3 separate regions of the Homo sapiens genome follow, and all the other regions are linked to region 1. Evidence: promoter capture Hi-C in 16 types of primary human blood cells and fetal thymus (Javierre and others, 2016). All regions are on one chromosome and are shown on one strand. Each heading gives the region's core, a stretch centred on a gene start or on the middle of the fragment in contact. The rest is flanking DNA. Distances are from core to core; before and after follow the strand shown. Region 1 holds the start of MIR155HG (MIR155 host gene). Region 2 holds the start of LOC105369299 (a long non-coding RNA gene). Region 3 overlaps CCT8 (chaperonin containing TCP1 subunit 8).

Region 1 (4,678 bases), core at 874-3,373:
CCTCATTTAACCTTTATCACCTCCTCACAGGCCCTATCTCCAAATGGGGATAACATTGGGGATCAGGGCTTCAACATATAAAGTTGAAGAGAACATGATTCAGTCTATAGTAATCCCTGATGGGAGACATCATTATTGTCATTTACAGGAAGCTGAGACATAAAAAGTTTAACGTTCAGATTCCACAGCTAGAATTAGTGTAAAATGCAGGTGTATTTGACTCCTAAAACCCATTTATCCATCCACTATTCTGGGTGTCTCAAACTGGGACCTAAAATGCGGAGGTTTGCACATGACCTGAAATTACTTCCACCACTGGGAGAAGGGAGGATTGAGCAATTTCCTGTTTCTATTAAAGTGCATTATACAAACTTGTCATTCTGGGGATGAAAGGTCACCCTAGAATTGCCTATGGGCAATTTCTTATAGTTCAACCTAGAATGAGAAATGGGAAATTCAGAAAGGCATTGTAGGCATCTGTAACCAGCAGAGGGACGTGCCCCACCTGGGTGGGGACCATGCATCCTTGCCACATGCCCCACTGCACAACTTCCCCAGCTCCTCAACGTCACATGGATCTGGAAAGCAGGGAGACTGGACTACGGAGCCAGCCCTCCAGGGTTGGAACTGAGTTTGAATCTCAGCTTGACTACTTACTAGGATCTAAGGTAACATGTTTAATCTCTCTGTGCTCAGTTTCCTCATCTGGAAATAGAGATTATAATGCTCCTCCCTCATATGATCATAGTGAGGACTGAAAGAGTTAATGCATATAAGGAGTGTTAGGACAGGATCTGGCACATGGTAAATGCTTTATAAGTGTTAGTTGTTATCATCATGATTATTCTTGTTTGAATTATAAGAGAAAAAGCATGTATCTTAAGAATAGAGGGTTTTAAAATGCTCCCAAGTTCCTTAACCAACCTGAGCCATCTGTAAATTAAGTACTATGGGATTTCCAGCTCTGACATGTATTCTGACATGTAACTGGCATCAGTTTAATACAAACTATTCTAAAATGTCTTGTGCCCTTGACAGGGAGGTCCAAGTACTGGATACTTGCAATGCAATCCAGCAGTGGCCCCGTCTTTCTTACAAAAAGGCCCCAGTCACATGTTGATGAGGCTAGATCTATTCCTGTCCTCCTTCTCTTCCCCATATTTCCTTATTCTTCTTCAAGTCTAAACGTTTATTGAACTGAGACCCATGAATGAGTTACTCGACTAGGCTTGTAGGATAAACTTGCCAGGCTTTAGATCTATTTGTTCCTTTCCATCCCCCAAAATCAAATGGCTGCTCCAGGAAAATGTTCCCCTTGTGGCAGGGTCCGGGAGAAAAGAGAGAAGCGACAAAACCAAAAATTAAAACGACCGAAGTCCCATATGCTCCAGGAATATGTCCTGGAGATGGGAGTGGAGGGCAGGGGGAGAATGTTGTTGAGGTCAAAATTTTTGAAGTTTTAAGTCCTATATCTTGACATCCCGAGTATAAATGCGGGTACCAGACACAGTACAAACGTTCTCAAAGCCCAGTTACGTATTCCAAACCAAACGCGGGCTCTTGAAGGGTGATGAGGTAGGGATGAAATCCAGGATCGCCTGAAGACCATTTCTTCCTCTCTTAGGGACCTGCTGGTCTCCAGCTGATTCGGTCCAGGAGGAAAAACCTCCCACTTGCTCCTCTCGGGCTCCCTGCAAGGAGAGAGTAGAGACACTCCTGCCACCCAGTTGCAAGAAGTCGCCACTTCCCCCTCCAGCCGACTGAAAGTTCGGGCGACGTCTGGGCCGTCATTTGAAGGCGTTTCCTTTTCTTTAAGAACAAAGGTTGGAGCCCAAGCCTTGCGGCGCGGTGCAGGAAAGTACACGGCGTGTGTTGAGAGAAAAAAAATACACACACGCAATGACCCACGAGAAAGGGAAAGGGGAAAACACCAACTACCCGGGCGCTGGGCTTTTTCGACTTTTCCTTTAAAAAGAAAAAAGTTTTTCAAGCTGTAGGTTCCAAGAACAGGCAGGAGGGGGGAGAAGGGGGGGGGGGTTGCAGAAAAGGCGCCTGGTCGGTTATGAGTCACAAGTGAGTTATAAAAGGGTCGCACGTTCGCAGGCGCGGGCTTCCTGTGCGCGGCCGAGCCCGGGCCCAGCGCCGCCTGCAGCCTCGGGAAGGGAGCGGATAGCGGAGCCCCGAGCCGCCCGCAGAGCAAGCGCGGGGAACCAAGGAGACGCTCCTGGCACTGCAGGTACGCCGACTTCAGTCTCGCGCTCCCGCCCGCCTTTCCTCTCTTGAACGTGGCAGGGACGCCGGGGGACTTCGGTGCGAGGGTCACCGCCGGGTTAACTGGCGAGGCAAGGCGGGGGCAGCGCGCACGTGGCCGTGGAGCCCGGCCTGGTCCCGCGCGCGCCTGCGGGTGCCCCCTGGGGACTCAGTGGTGTCGCCTCGCCCGGGACCAGAGATTGCGCTGGATGGATTCCCGCGGGCAGAGGCAGGGGGAAGGAGGGGTGTTCGAAACCTAATACTTGAGCTTCTTTGCAAAGTTTCCTTGGATGGTTGGGGACGTACCTGTATAATGGCCCTGGACCAGCTTCCCTGTTGGAGTGGCCAGAGAAGTGTGTAAAACACACTAGAGGGGCAGGGTGGAAAAAGAGACTGCCTTCAAAACTTGTATCTTTTCGATTTCATTTTGAAAAATAACTACAAATCTATTTTAATTTTACAAAGTTAGACTCATAGCATTTTAGATATCAATGTCTTCATTTAACAGAAGTGAAGATGGAGCAAACGCTCAATCAGCGTCTGTATTTATTCGCTCCTGTTGTGCCAGGGTGCGTTTTTGCCGAGCGGTTGCCTTTCTTTACTCACAAAACCCCCTTGATGTCTGTCCTCCACGTTTTACGAGGGAGAGCCGGATCTTTTGAAGTTTGTATCATCTAAAGCAGGTATATTGGGATGACTATGGATAGAATTTAACCTGAAAACACTGAAGTTGACAGCTGACAAAGATATAAGAATCCAAAGTATGTTAAAAATTAAGGAGCTGAGGCCCACAGAAGTGAAGTTACTTTTCCAGCATCACACAGCAGATCTAGGACCCTGTGTGATTTGAAAAGGCCAAGGTATCTAATGATGCTCATAATTTAGTTTACATTTTGTGTCAAATAGATGAGGTCAAGTGGACATTATGTGTATATTCCAAAGCCAAAATTACTGCTTGTAATATCCATTCATCTCTCCGAAGACGTAGTGCCTCTTTTATATGGCTTTAACCTAATGTATAATCGAAGTGAATTAGGGCAGCCAGACTTTTAATCACAGGACTGATCTTTTAAAAACGGGTATATGTAAAGTTAATTGCTTATCTATGTGAACAGTAATATACACTATAAAAAGTTTTCAAGGCAACTTCCTGCCTGTGGTTTAATTTGATAGTCACAATGATAGGAAATTGGCAGGGTTAGGTGGTGGTATCTACATTTTGCCCATGAGGACTTGTGGCTCAGAGAATTTGAGTTTTTTCTAGTAAGGTCACTAGGTCCCTAGTGCACAGCCTGCTTTTAGGTACGGATGTGGGATGGGGGTGTCGGCAGACCACAGGGTTTTGACTCTCAGTTTGGGCTCATTTCCATGACTCCTTGCTGCCTCCCTGATTTCTGTCAAATGACCAAAGCACATTTAGTAATTACTTCTGCTGCAAGGACTACTCCTTATTAGGCTGTGATAAGTAAGTTTCCTCACATAGTGGGTCAGCTCACTCTGGCCACAGGACCCAGCTTCCTAACCACACACATTAAGAAAGAGAAAAATTAGCACTGTCTGAGACCTACAACCACTTCAAGGGAGAACAGTGGTGTTTGCACAAATGTCTACTTTTGTTTTAACCTAGTCATGTGTAAAAAGTGTAATTCACTGGTCTTTACCAAAAAAAAAAAAAAAAAAACAACAACAAAAAAAAAACAGGCATCATAGTCTGCCTGTGCTGGACGCTATGCTAGACACTGGAGAGACAAAGGTGAGCAGGATAGGCACAACCCTACCCTTACAAACCCAGAAAGTTAGAGGAAAGGCCATCAGGACATTGCTGTGCAATTTGATATCATTTCAATTTTGGTAACATAGATATTTGAACTAATTAGAATGTGCTACAAATTTTGCCATTCTTTACTTTCCATATGCCAACATGGAAAATTTGTAACCCTCATCTTTAAATACCTCATCTTACCAGTCCTCTATAAATCAAAAAATCTACCCCAAAAAGCCCTAGGTTTTAACTTTTGAAAAGTTTTTTTTTATCAGCTTTTCAGGTCATGACTAAGATCTGCCATTCAATTTAAAGGAATTCTTTCATTTTAGAGTAATAGTTACTAAAATCCTTTATTCCTACCTCCTTGAGAATCTAATGGAAATTTTATATGCTCTTCCCAGAAAATTTTTGTTAATGTGTATCCTCACACACCAATTTGCATTCGATGTTAGCAGGCTAGAGACTTCCTTGAATCTCAGCCATGACCCTCTTCGGGGGTCCACTTTCATAATCAGTATTCTAAACCTAGTAGGCATAAATAGCTTGAATAGAGGAAAGTGGTATGTAGACTCTTGCCCTTCACTTGGACTGGGCACCTCTATCACTTGGACTGGGCACCAGCTAGTGCCCTTAACTAGCTGGTGTCTCCATTTTTGATAGTCA
Region 2 (4,678 bases), core at 813-3,312, 3.7 Mb after region 1:
GGAAAAATTGGAAATATCATTTTTGAAAGAAATGTGACAATGCACATATATAACATCTTGCGAATGGTATTGTATATCACCAAACCTGCTCACAGCAGGAAAACTAGCCATCACTTCTCACAGTCAATGAGAAGTATAAATCAAGGACATAGCAGTAAGCTGTGATACCCAAGCTTCACGGATAAATTCTCCTAAAGAATAATGCACTAAAAACAAAACTACATGACAAAAAAAAGCACTAATTGCAAATCACTGTGAAACAGTAGCACAAAATCTTTATATTGTGCTACTAGTGACAGCAACAGAAGACAGTCAAACGCCTAGGCAGATAGAGGCAGGTCCCCGGTGAAACCCCACCTCCAAGCTGAAGACAGTTTAAAGCCTGAAAGCCAAACTACAAGTTAAATTTTCAGACTAGATTGAGAACTTGTCTTCCTGTTTGGCACGCTTTCCTCTGATCTCCACCCTTCACCTATTTTACGTATACTTACCCTTTCTAATTGGTTTTCTACACTGTCGTGCCTGCCTTTGAGTGGTGTCTTTGCTTTAACCTTTTTTTGCAAACTCACAAACCAATCAGCATGCACTCCCCATTCTGAGTGCATAAAAGCCCCAGGCTCAGCCACATGAGAGGGGATTTTCCCACTTTCGGGTAGGGGAACTGCTCCCAGCATTCGCTCTTTGCTGAGAGCTTTCCTTTTGCTTAATCAATTCCACTCCACTCACTTTCCGGTGTCTGTGTGCCTAGTTTTTCCTGGTTGTGAGACAAGAACTTGGACCTAGCTGAGCTAAGGAGCAGAAAGACTGCCAAGACTAGGCTACTTGTCCCAGTTTCAAACTATTATCAATACTAATTGAAAGCAATCAGCTGGGAGCGGTGGCTCATGCCTGTAGTCCCAGCACTCTGGGAGGCCAAGGCAGGTGGATCATTTGAGGTCAGGAGTTTGAGATCAGCCTGGCCAACATGGTGAAACCTTGTCTCTACTAAAAATACAAAAATTAGCTGGGCTTGGTGGTGGGTGCCTGAAATTCCAGCTACTCAGGAGGCTGGGGCAGGAGAATCACTTGAACCCGGGAGGCAGAGGTTGCAGTGAGACAAAATCATGCCACTGCACTCCAAGCCTGCGTGACAGAGAGAGACACCATCTCAAAAAAAAAAAAAAAAAAAGCGATCAGAATTTTTTTTCTTGGTCCCCAAATCTCAACATTTTTTTTTCCCAATAGGAATTAGGTAGAAGCACTATGTCTCATTATAACCTCAAGATAATTTTTAAAAATCTGTTTTAGTAATAGATTTTAATAAACATATGAGTTAGTATAAAAGATCTTGAGGCTGATGTTCTTCAAAGTTGACCATGATGTAGCCACTTTTCTTGATTCCGAGTATTGCAGGATTACTCAAGGTTTTGTTGGCCTGGCAGCTAATAATGTTAATGCTAACTCTGGAAGTCCAGAAGACATAGGTCAGAACATACAGTTGTTTGTGAATATTTACACTGACATACAGGTTTTAAAAGAAATACATTCTAAGTGGTTTTGGTTCAAAGCAAGAGAATACTGAAAACAAAAAGTGCCACATCTTTCACTGAGCATTTTACTGCATTCATTCCTTCATTCAACCTACTATCTGTTTCCACTCCCATTCCTTCTCAATACTAGAATTAGCTTTTAAAAATAACCACATGACTTAGAAACCTCTACTCACTTATTGCAGACCACGGGATGAAGTCCAAACTCCAGGTGCTGTGCATGAGGCCCTTCTCATACTGACTCGGTTTCATTTCATTCTCCAGTTTCATTTTTCGTCCTGTCCCTACTACATGCCATAAGCTTGAAGACCACATGCTTCAGTATTAAAAATGCAGACCCTTAGGTCCTACTCAGATCTACAAAATTAGCATCTTTTGGGGGTGGGACCCAGGAATCTGCATTTTTTTTTTTTTTTTTTTTTTTGAGATAGAGTTTTGCTCTGTCGCCAGGCTGGAGTGCAGTGGCGCGATCTCAGCTCACTGCAACCTCCACCGCCCAGGTTCAAGCGATTCCCCTGTGTCAGCCTCCTGAGCGGCTGGGACTACAGGCGCACACCATCATGCCTGGCTAATTTTTTGTATTTTAGTAGAAACGGGGTTTCACCATGTTGGGGTTTAGTAGAAACGGGGTTTCACCATGTCGATCTCCTGACCTCGTGATCCGCCCGCCTTGGCCTTTGAAAGTGCTGGGATTACAGGCATGAGCCACTGCTCCCGGCCGGAATCTGCATTTTAACAAGCAAACCAAATATTCTTCCCCATAATGAAGCTTGAGAGTCACTCACTTGACTTGATACTCTTAGCACATCTGTATACCTTTGTGAGAACTTCTCAAATAATTAAACCTATCAGGGCATACATCATAATTTTCAGGCTAGAAAATGTCACTGCTATTATCTAAAGAAGCAAGAGTTCCTCCCAAAGAGGAGGGTCTGATCTTCCCCTAGAAAAAACTGCACAGGTGTAGAAAAAACTGCATAGGTGTAGAAAAAAGACACTGCAATTCCACTGGCTCAAGGTGGAAGGAGAATAAAGCCTCGGACACTCCCATGTGTCTGCAAGAACTTCAATCCTTCTTTCATGGTGTATTTCCAAGTGTCCTTTCCTCCTGTTTCACTAAATATCTGCACTCTCACCATGAACTGAGGCAGCCTGGGATGCGAGGTACCTCCTACCTCTGGACCCTATCTAGACTGCTGGGTTCCACTCTTCCCAATCAAGACCCAATGCAAATGTCACCTGCTCCAGGAAGCCTCCCCTAATTCTAGGTCATAATGTATCACTTCACCCCTCGCACTCTCATCCAATTTCACTTGTGTGATTTTCTCATGTATTTTGGATGTAGCTCAAACGTCCCCAAGTCCCACAGCCTGTGGGTGCAAATGCAGTCATGTTAGTCGTAATACCTGAATTATTATCTTGGTATCCTTTTTGCCCCGGGAACTCCAGGGCTGTGTTCTTGTTGCTGGCTCCAAAGCTAACAATAAAATCCCTTCACACAAATCGTCCTTTGGCTTCAGACCTCAAGGTCCGTGTCATCTCCGCAGGAACCCTCGTGGGGTTGGCGTGCCCAGTCCCCTCCGCTGCGCGTGCATCCCGCTCCGCTGACAGCCAGTGCTTTGGTTCTCCAGAGGTGTTAAATGGCTTGGGAACATAATTTCAAAACGGACAGTTGGATAAACACCAGAATAAGCACCAGAAGATGACAGCGGAACCAAGGCTCGAGATGGGCCGGCTGACACCACTGGGCGCTGAACCTGGCTGGAAGCTTCCTGGCAGCGACAGCGAAAAGGGAACACCTGTCGTGGGCGCCCTTGTTTCACTGTCAGTAAGAAGTAGAGCAACTGCTAGACGCGCTCCACAAAACCCTGGACGCACTTCATACACACCCCCACCCCAGCAAGCTCAAGTACCCTGTGAACCTGGACGCCCACCACCCCCAGGGCAGGCAGCGAGGAGCTCTTCAAGGGGTAAAGCGACCCCTGTGGGGCCAGCGCCCGTCCTCTCTCCTGCTGTTCGCGGGCACCCGGGCACGCGGCGACTCGGCTGAATTAGGGCGTCCTGCAGCTCCCGAGGCGAGGAGGCGCTTGGCCTTTCCGTTCCGCCCTCAGAAGGGAGAGGAGAGGTGGTCCTCGAGTGGGAGTCAGTTCAGGATGCGGGCTGTGCCACGCGCGGAGGTCCGGGGACCCCACCGCCGCCTCCTCGAGGCCCGCCCCGCCCCTTACGACCCGTCCCTGCAACCCCCCGCGTGGGCTTCCGGCCGCGGCGACCCCTGCCCCGCGCTATTGCGCGCGCTCGTTCGCTGACAGAGGCTTCGAGGGCGGCAGGGCGGGGCTTCGGCGCCGGGGGCGGGGCCTTCAGCGGGCGGGCGGGGTTTTGGCGCCGCGAGGTGGCGGCAGCAGAGCGGCGCAGAAGGGAGGGGGCGGCTGGCCGCGCGGAAGGAGTGAGTCACCTGACCGCTGCCCTCGCCGCCCGCCGGGCGCTCTCGCTTCAGTCAGTCGGGCCGCGCCGCGCCTCAGCTCTGGTGAGTGGCTCGGCCGTCCCGCCGGCCCTTCTCCGGGAGGGTTGGCGCGGTCAGGGCCGCGGGCCTGTGAGGGGAGGCCGGCGGACAGGTCCAGTGAAGGCGCGGGCGGGCCGGGGGCGGCTCTTTCTGGGCTGGGCGGGGCGCGGGGGGCACGTATCGGGGCCCGCGGGGGGCGCCGGCGGCCGGGATCCTGGAAGTGGCCGCGACGCCGGAAGGGGCGTCCCGTCGGCGGCCGAACCCCCTGCACTGCCGGAGCTGTTGTTTACCCGCGCGCGCCGTACTTTACCCGGGGCGGGCGGGGGCTGGGGGCCGCGGGGTCCCTGCCCCACCCCCCTCCCTGCCCTCGGGCGCCAGCCCGGCCCCTCGCCCGCGGCCCGCCCGGGCTGTGACACATCAGCACCGCCCTCGCGGCTGGGGCCCCGTATTGTCCTCCGCCGCCTCCCACCGCATGCCCAGCCTCGCGTCTACTCAGCCCGGTGGCTGTCGCGCGTGGAATCGCGTAAGAAAAGCCGAGTTTGTGGCTGGGGAGAGAAGGCCACCGTGCTGAGCTGGATTTAGCGAAGACTGGTTTTGGGGACCGGAGAGCCCAGGACTCCCTTTGTTGGAGTTTTGCCCACGCGTTGTA
Region 3 (4,678 bases), core at 1,792-4,291, 3.5 Mb after region 1:
CTCTCAATATCTATTTTACTATATATTCTTGTTGTAAGGGTTATCATTTGTGATTTAAAGAAAAGGGGGAGTATAAAACTTTTCTTCAAATATAACATAATTTTATGTGGATTTTATTCTTAGGATTTAATTTTAGATACCTTTACAGAAACAAGCCAAGGAGTAAGAACTGAGAGCAACAAGAAAACTATAAAAAGTCAGCCCTGTGATTTTATTATTTTGACGGTATCACCACTGTACTTTAATAACTCCTGAGATCATCAGTGTGCAACATTAACATTCACAGTGACAAACCCTTGTACAAGTGTTTTGTGGAGTTAAAATTTAACTTTTAACTTAAGTTCTTTAAGAATTTATATATATAATATGTATTTTTTTTTCTTTTTTGAGATGGAGTCTTGCTCTGTCGCCCAGGCTGGAGTGCAGTGGCGCGATCTTGGCTCATTGCAACCTCCGCCTCCCAGGTTCAAGCAATTCTCCTGCCCTAGCCTACTGAGTAGCTGGAACTACAGGTGTGTGCCACCACGCCCGGCTGATTTTGTTTCTGTATTTTTAGTAGAGATGGGGTTTCACCATGTTGGCCAGGCTAGTCTCAAACTCCTGACCTTAGGTGATCCGCCTGCCTTGACCTCCCAAAGTGGTGGGATTACAGGCGTGAGCCACCGCGTCCAACCAAAAATATATTATTTAAGAGGTTAGAAAAATGTTGATTCTTCTATCGTTTCATTTAAAACAAAAGATTAAGTTCTAGTGCTTTCAAGGGCTAAGCTTCAGGAAAATTCCCTGAGGTTGAATATGTTATCCTTTAATTACAAGGCGGGAATGAGGAATGGCTCTCTCTGCCTGTTCAGGTGCCAGACCTTCCTTATAACCCTGCTGGCAGGCAGTATCTATTTTATAGATTCTAATAGTAAAACTAAAGCTGAACAAAGTAAAATGCCATCAACTGATTGTTTTTATTTTCACAAAACCAAATGGTTGGATCTTTTTAAAAACCACTGTTATATGTATACGTTTTTGCACTGTGGAATAATTCACTTCAGAGTCACCCTATAGAATGAAGACAATGGTAATCAATTTCATATCGTAATTAGCAATGTATCACAACCAATCCCTCCATAAATTAATAACTTGAGAGATTTTTAAGATTTCAGTGGCTAAAACATTCAATCTAAAGAGGACTCTTTATAATTAGAACAATCTGTACAATAAATTTTCAAGCTGGAAAAATAGTCCCTTATCCAATCTGAAATAAGAGATTTCTTCTAGTTAAAATCTACTTAATTTTGATGTCACCAAAATATTTCTTGACTTTTTAAAGAAACAACTTACTTCTAGTTCTCTTAAAATAGTTGCTGCATCGTTTGTCACAAACAACTTCTCCAAGTGGTTGATAACCATTTTGTTCATTCCTCAAAAGTAACAGTTAAAAAAAGAAAAAGAAAGCCATTATTAATCAAATCCTTCCCCAAATACCCAGGAAAATCTAGTTAAGAAATTATAAATTTGTATATTAAAAAAAGAGCTTTGCAAGAAAACACATACTATCTATTCTTCAAGTTTATCTTATAGCCCCATGGGCATTCTCTGACTGCAGACCCATATTCTTTCTTCCCTTTCTAATGTCCTACAATATTTACTACGTAAGATGCCAAATCTCACATTTTTGCCAATTTCTATCTTCTGTTTGCAACATGACTGTCATGCAGCAAGTGCTCAACAGAAATTAACATGTAAAAAGGCCAAAATAATCTACTTAGTATATTTAGTTGTATGTTTATTCCATGAAACTGTATCATTTAAATTTAATTGGTGGTAGAAGGCAAGAGGAAGGAGAGAATTTTCTTCCTTAAACTATGTCACTTTTATATTTAGTGTTTGTCAGAATGAACATTAGGTACTATCTTACTAGTCAAAGTGTTATAATTTTTCTATCCTCTCAACAGGATAAAAAGTAATATATTGACCCCCATTTTTCTAAAGAGATGTGAGTTGATTGAAAATTAGAAATAACTAAAAATTGGAAATGAACTATCATTGAGCTATCAAATTAACTTCCGAAGTCATACCATAACATCCTCAGAACAAGTCTGAAAGAAGACGTAGTACACAATATTCTACTACTGTATCTTTACAAATATTAATTTAGAAATTACCATTTGGTCCATATGCTGTACGAGTGGTTTGGGCAAGCTCCTTGCAAGCTTGTATGTTTCTATACACAGCCTCTTCTAATCCTGAAAAGTGCTGTTAAAAAAAACAAACAAAAAACCCCGCTAATTAGACAGGACAGTGAAACAAAAATTTCAAATACAAGATATCTTTGCTTATATCTTGCCTCTAATAAAGAGGGAGCATAGCTTAGGTATTTGGCACAAGAGGGCTGGTTGCAAATCTTAGCTTTCTGGCTCTTTTTAAATTTGGGCAATTTTCTTAACATTTCTTCATTATAAAATGAAGTAATTATAATAGTACCTAACTCATAGGATTGTTGAGACAATCAAACAAGATTTTTTAATGTAAAACACAGCATTTGATATTCATAAATGATGCATACATTTCCTCTCTAGTTGAATGAATAAAGTATAACATTTTGGGGGACCGCAGGTACCTACTTACACATCAAAAGACTTAAAATTTTTTTTATTAAAAGTAGTGAAAAGTACAGGGAACCATGCTAAGACTAATTAGAGAAAGGGTATGAGGTACTTCAAGTAGAATACCTTTCCAGAATTTATCAGTATTTTCTAACTAACTGTTGAAATGTGGAATATTCTTATTGTGTTAGAATCTGGGCTTTTGTAAAGCCAGAAGTTCTTTAAGTATGTGCCACTGAAGTGTTTAGAGACTGAATACTTTTTTTGAATTGCAACATTATCCCAATGTATATGTATTGAAAAGCGAACTGCTCACGGTACTAAAAATTCTCACAAATTCTACACTGGACTTTTTTAGAGTTGAGGTTTACTTGGGTCCTCAGATATATTTCACTAATCTACTGTGCATGAGAACATTTCTTTAGAGAAGCGCTGCCCAATACAGTAGCCACTAGCTACATACATGGGGCTAGTGAAAGCAATCAAAATAAACTTTCAAGTAATTAAAATTAAAAAATTCAGTTCCTCAATTGCAGGAGCCACAGTTCAAATGCCCAGTAGCTACATGTGGGTAGTGAATATCACACTGGACAGCGCTGATACAGCGTATGTCCAGCACTGCAAAAAGTTCTATTTACATAGTACTGCTTTACAATACAAGCCATGATTTTGTGATCCAAAACCAAGGTTAATAGCCATTACTCTTTTTTGAGAGAGAGAGAGTCTCCTCTATCGCTCAGGCTGGAGTGCAGTGAGCTGAGATCGTGGCACGATCTCAGCTCACTGCAACCTGGGCCTCCCGGGTTCAAGCAATTCTGGAGGCTCAGCCTCCTGAGTAGCTGGGATTAGAGGTGCGCGCCACACCAGGTTGGTTTTTTTTGTATTTTTTTGAGAGGCGGAGTTTCACCATGTTGGCCAGGAACTCCTGGCCTCAAGTGATCCACTGACCTCGGCCTCCCCAGTGTTGGGATTACAGGTGTGAGCCACCAACCCCTGCCAATAGCCACTGCTTTAAAAGCATCTTCAGCAATAAGAACTGTTATTCCAGCAATAACACTTAAGTCTGAACTCCTGGCTTACACTCTTGCTTCTTCCCCTCACTCCCCATTCTGTGAGAAACTACCATTTGATCAGATCCCCTCATTCCCATACTTAAGACCCTTCAATGGTTTCCCAACCAGCTTAGGATAAAATGCAAATCCCTTTTCAAGGAAACAAGGCCCTACGTATCCCGGCCCTTGTATGGCTCCTCCTCTGAACTTACCATTCTTCCTTTCTTTGGTAAGCTTCAGCCCTACAACCTGTTGTTGTTGTTGTTGTTTTAAAAAAAAAACAGGTCAAAATCATTCCTTCCTCAGGGTCTTTGTACTAGTTAGTCCCTGAGCCTGGCATTTCCCCCTAAGTAAGAGGTCGGGGGAAACAGCCCAGGCTCAGGGGCTTCTCTCACTAAGCACTGAGCTAAGAGTTCTTCCCTAAACGTCTAAGTGTTCTGTCTATTCCTGATCCTTCTTTTACAGACATTTTTACCTCCTGTCATCCTCTACTATAGTGCAGTTTCTTTCATCATTATTTGGAATTCTCCTTTTATTTAATCATTATTTCTGCCTTAGAAGGACATAAACTCTACGACAAATGGGACTTTTGTCTTTCACTGCAGTTCCTTCAGTACCTATTTATTGAAAGAAATAGCTCAGTGTTCTGTAAAAAACTACTAGCACTGGAATGACAAATAATGTTTTGTGATACACGAGTTTTCCAAAACTGTATTAGTGAAAAAAACCCAAATTGGAAGCTATTATCTCAGCCTGATTTTTTCAAGGGAATCAGCCCATATCATTTTCAAAAGATTATTCCACCAACATTTACCTTGAACCCTGACATTTACTTACTATACCGACATTATTTGAAAAGTGCATCCTACAAACATGAACCTAGTTCTATTAAACTGTTAATGCTCCCCGTACCTCGCATAAAACCTTAAATTCAACCACACTGATCTATTTCTTGAATTAACAAAATCTGGAGGACACACAGAGGAATGCAATTTGAATAGCACAAGAGACAAATTTATCAATAGTGCA

The links. The method cuts DNA at HindIII sites, captures the fragments that hold promoters and counts their contacts. A CHiCAGO score of 5 or more calls a contact.
Region 2: a fragment that was not itself captured here is called in contact with the fragment with the promoter of MIR155HG in region 1 in 1 of 17 cell types (activated CD4 T cells); the score reaches 5.5 in activated CD4 T cells.
Region 3: a fragment that was not itself captured here is called in contact with the fragment with the promoter of MIR155HG in region 1 in 1 of 17 cell types (non-activated CD4 T cells); the score reaches 8.5 in non-activated CD4 T cells.

Annotation. Positions count from the first base shown.
Region 1 is chr21:25,560,022-25,564,699 of GRCh38, forward strand. It overlaps MIR155HG (MIR155 host gene), which reads left to right and starts at 2,124. Exons shown (of 3, transcript NR_001458.3): 1 at 2,124-2,236. RefSeq lists an enhancer at 1,659-1,708 and silencers at 2,089-2,178, 2,189-2,468. The HindIII fragment of the contact is 13,141 bases long and covers 1-4,678 here.
Region 2 is chr21:29,294,901-29,299,578 of GRCh38, forward strand. LOC105369299 (a long non-coding RNA gene) reads right to left here and starts at 3,836. Exons shown (of 2, transcript XR_937652.3): 1 at 1,706-3,836; 2 at 1,278-1,442. BACH1 (BTB domain and CNC homolog 1) reads left to right here and starts at 4,022. Exons shown (of 5, transcript NM_001186.4): 1 at 4,022-4,053. RefSeq lists a silencer at 3,547-4,456. The HindIII fragment of the contact is 468 bases long and covers 1,829-2,296 here.
Region 3 is chr21:29,068,091-29,072,768 of GRCh38, forward strand. It overlaps CCT8 (chaperonin containing TCP1 subunit 8), which reads right to left. Exons shown (of 15, transcript NM_006585.4): 2 at 2,157-2,247; 3 at 1,333-1,412. Among named protein-coding and RNA genes, the nearest start is that of CCT8, 3.2 kb to the right of the region's middle. RefSeq lists an enhancer at 4,630-4,678. The HindIII fragment of the contact is 1,679 bases long and covers 2,203-3,881 here.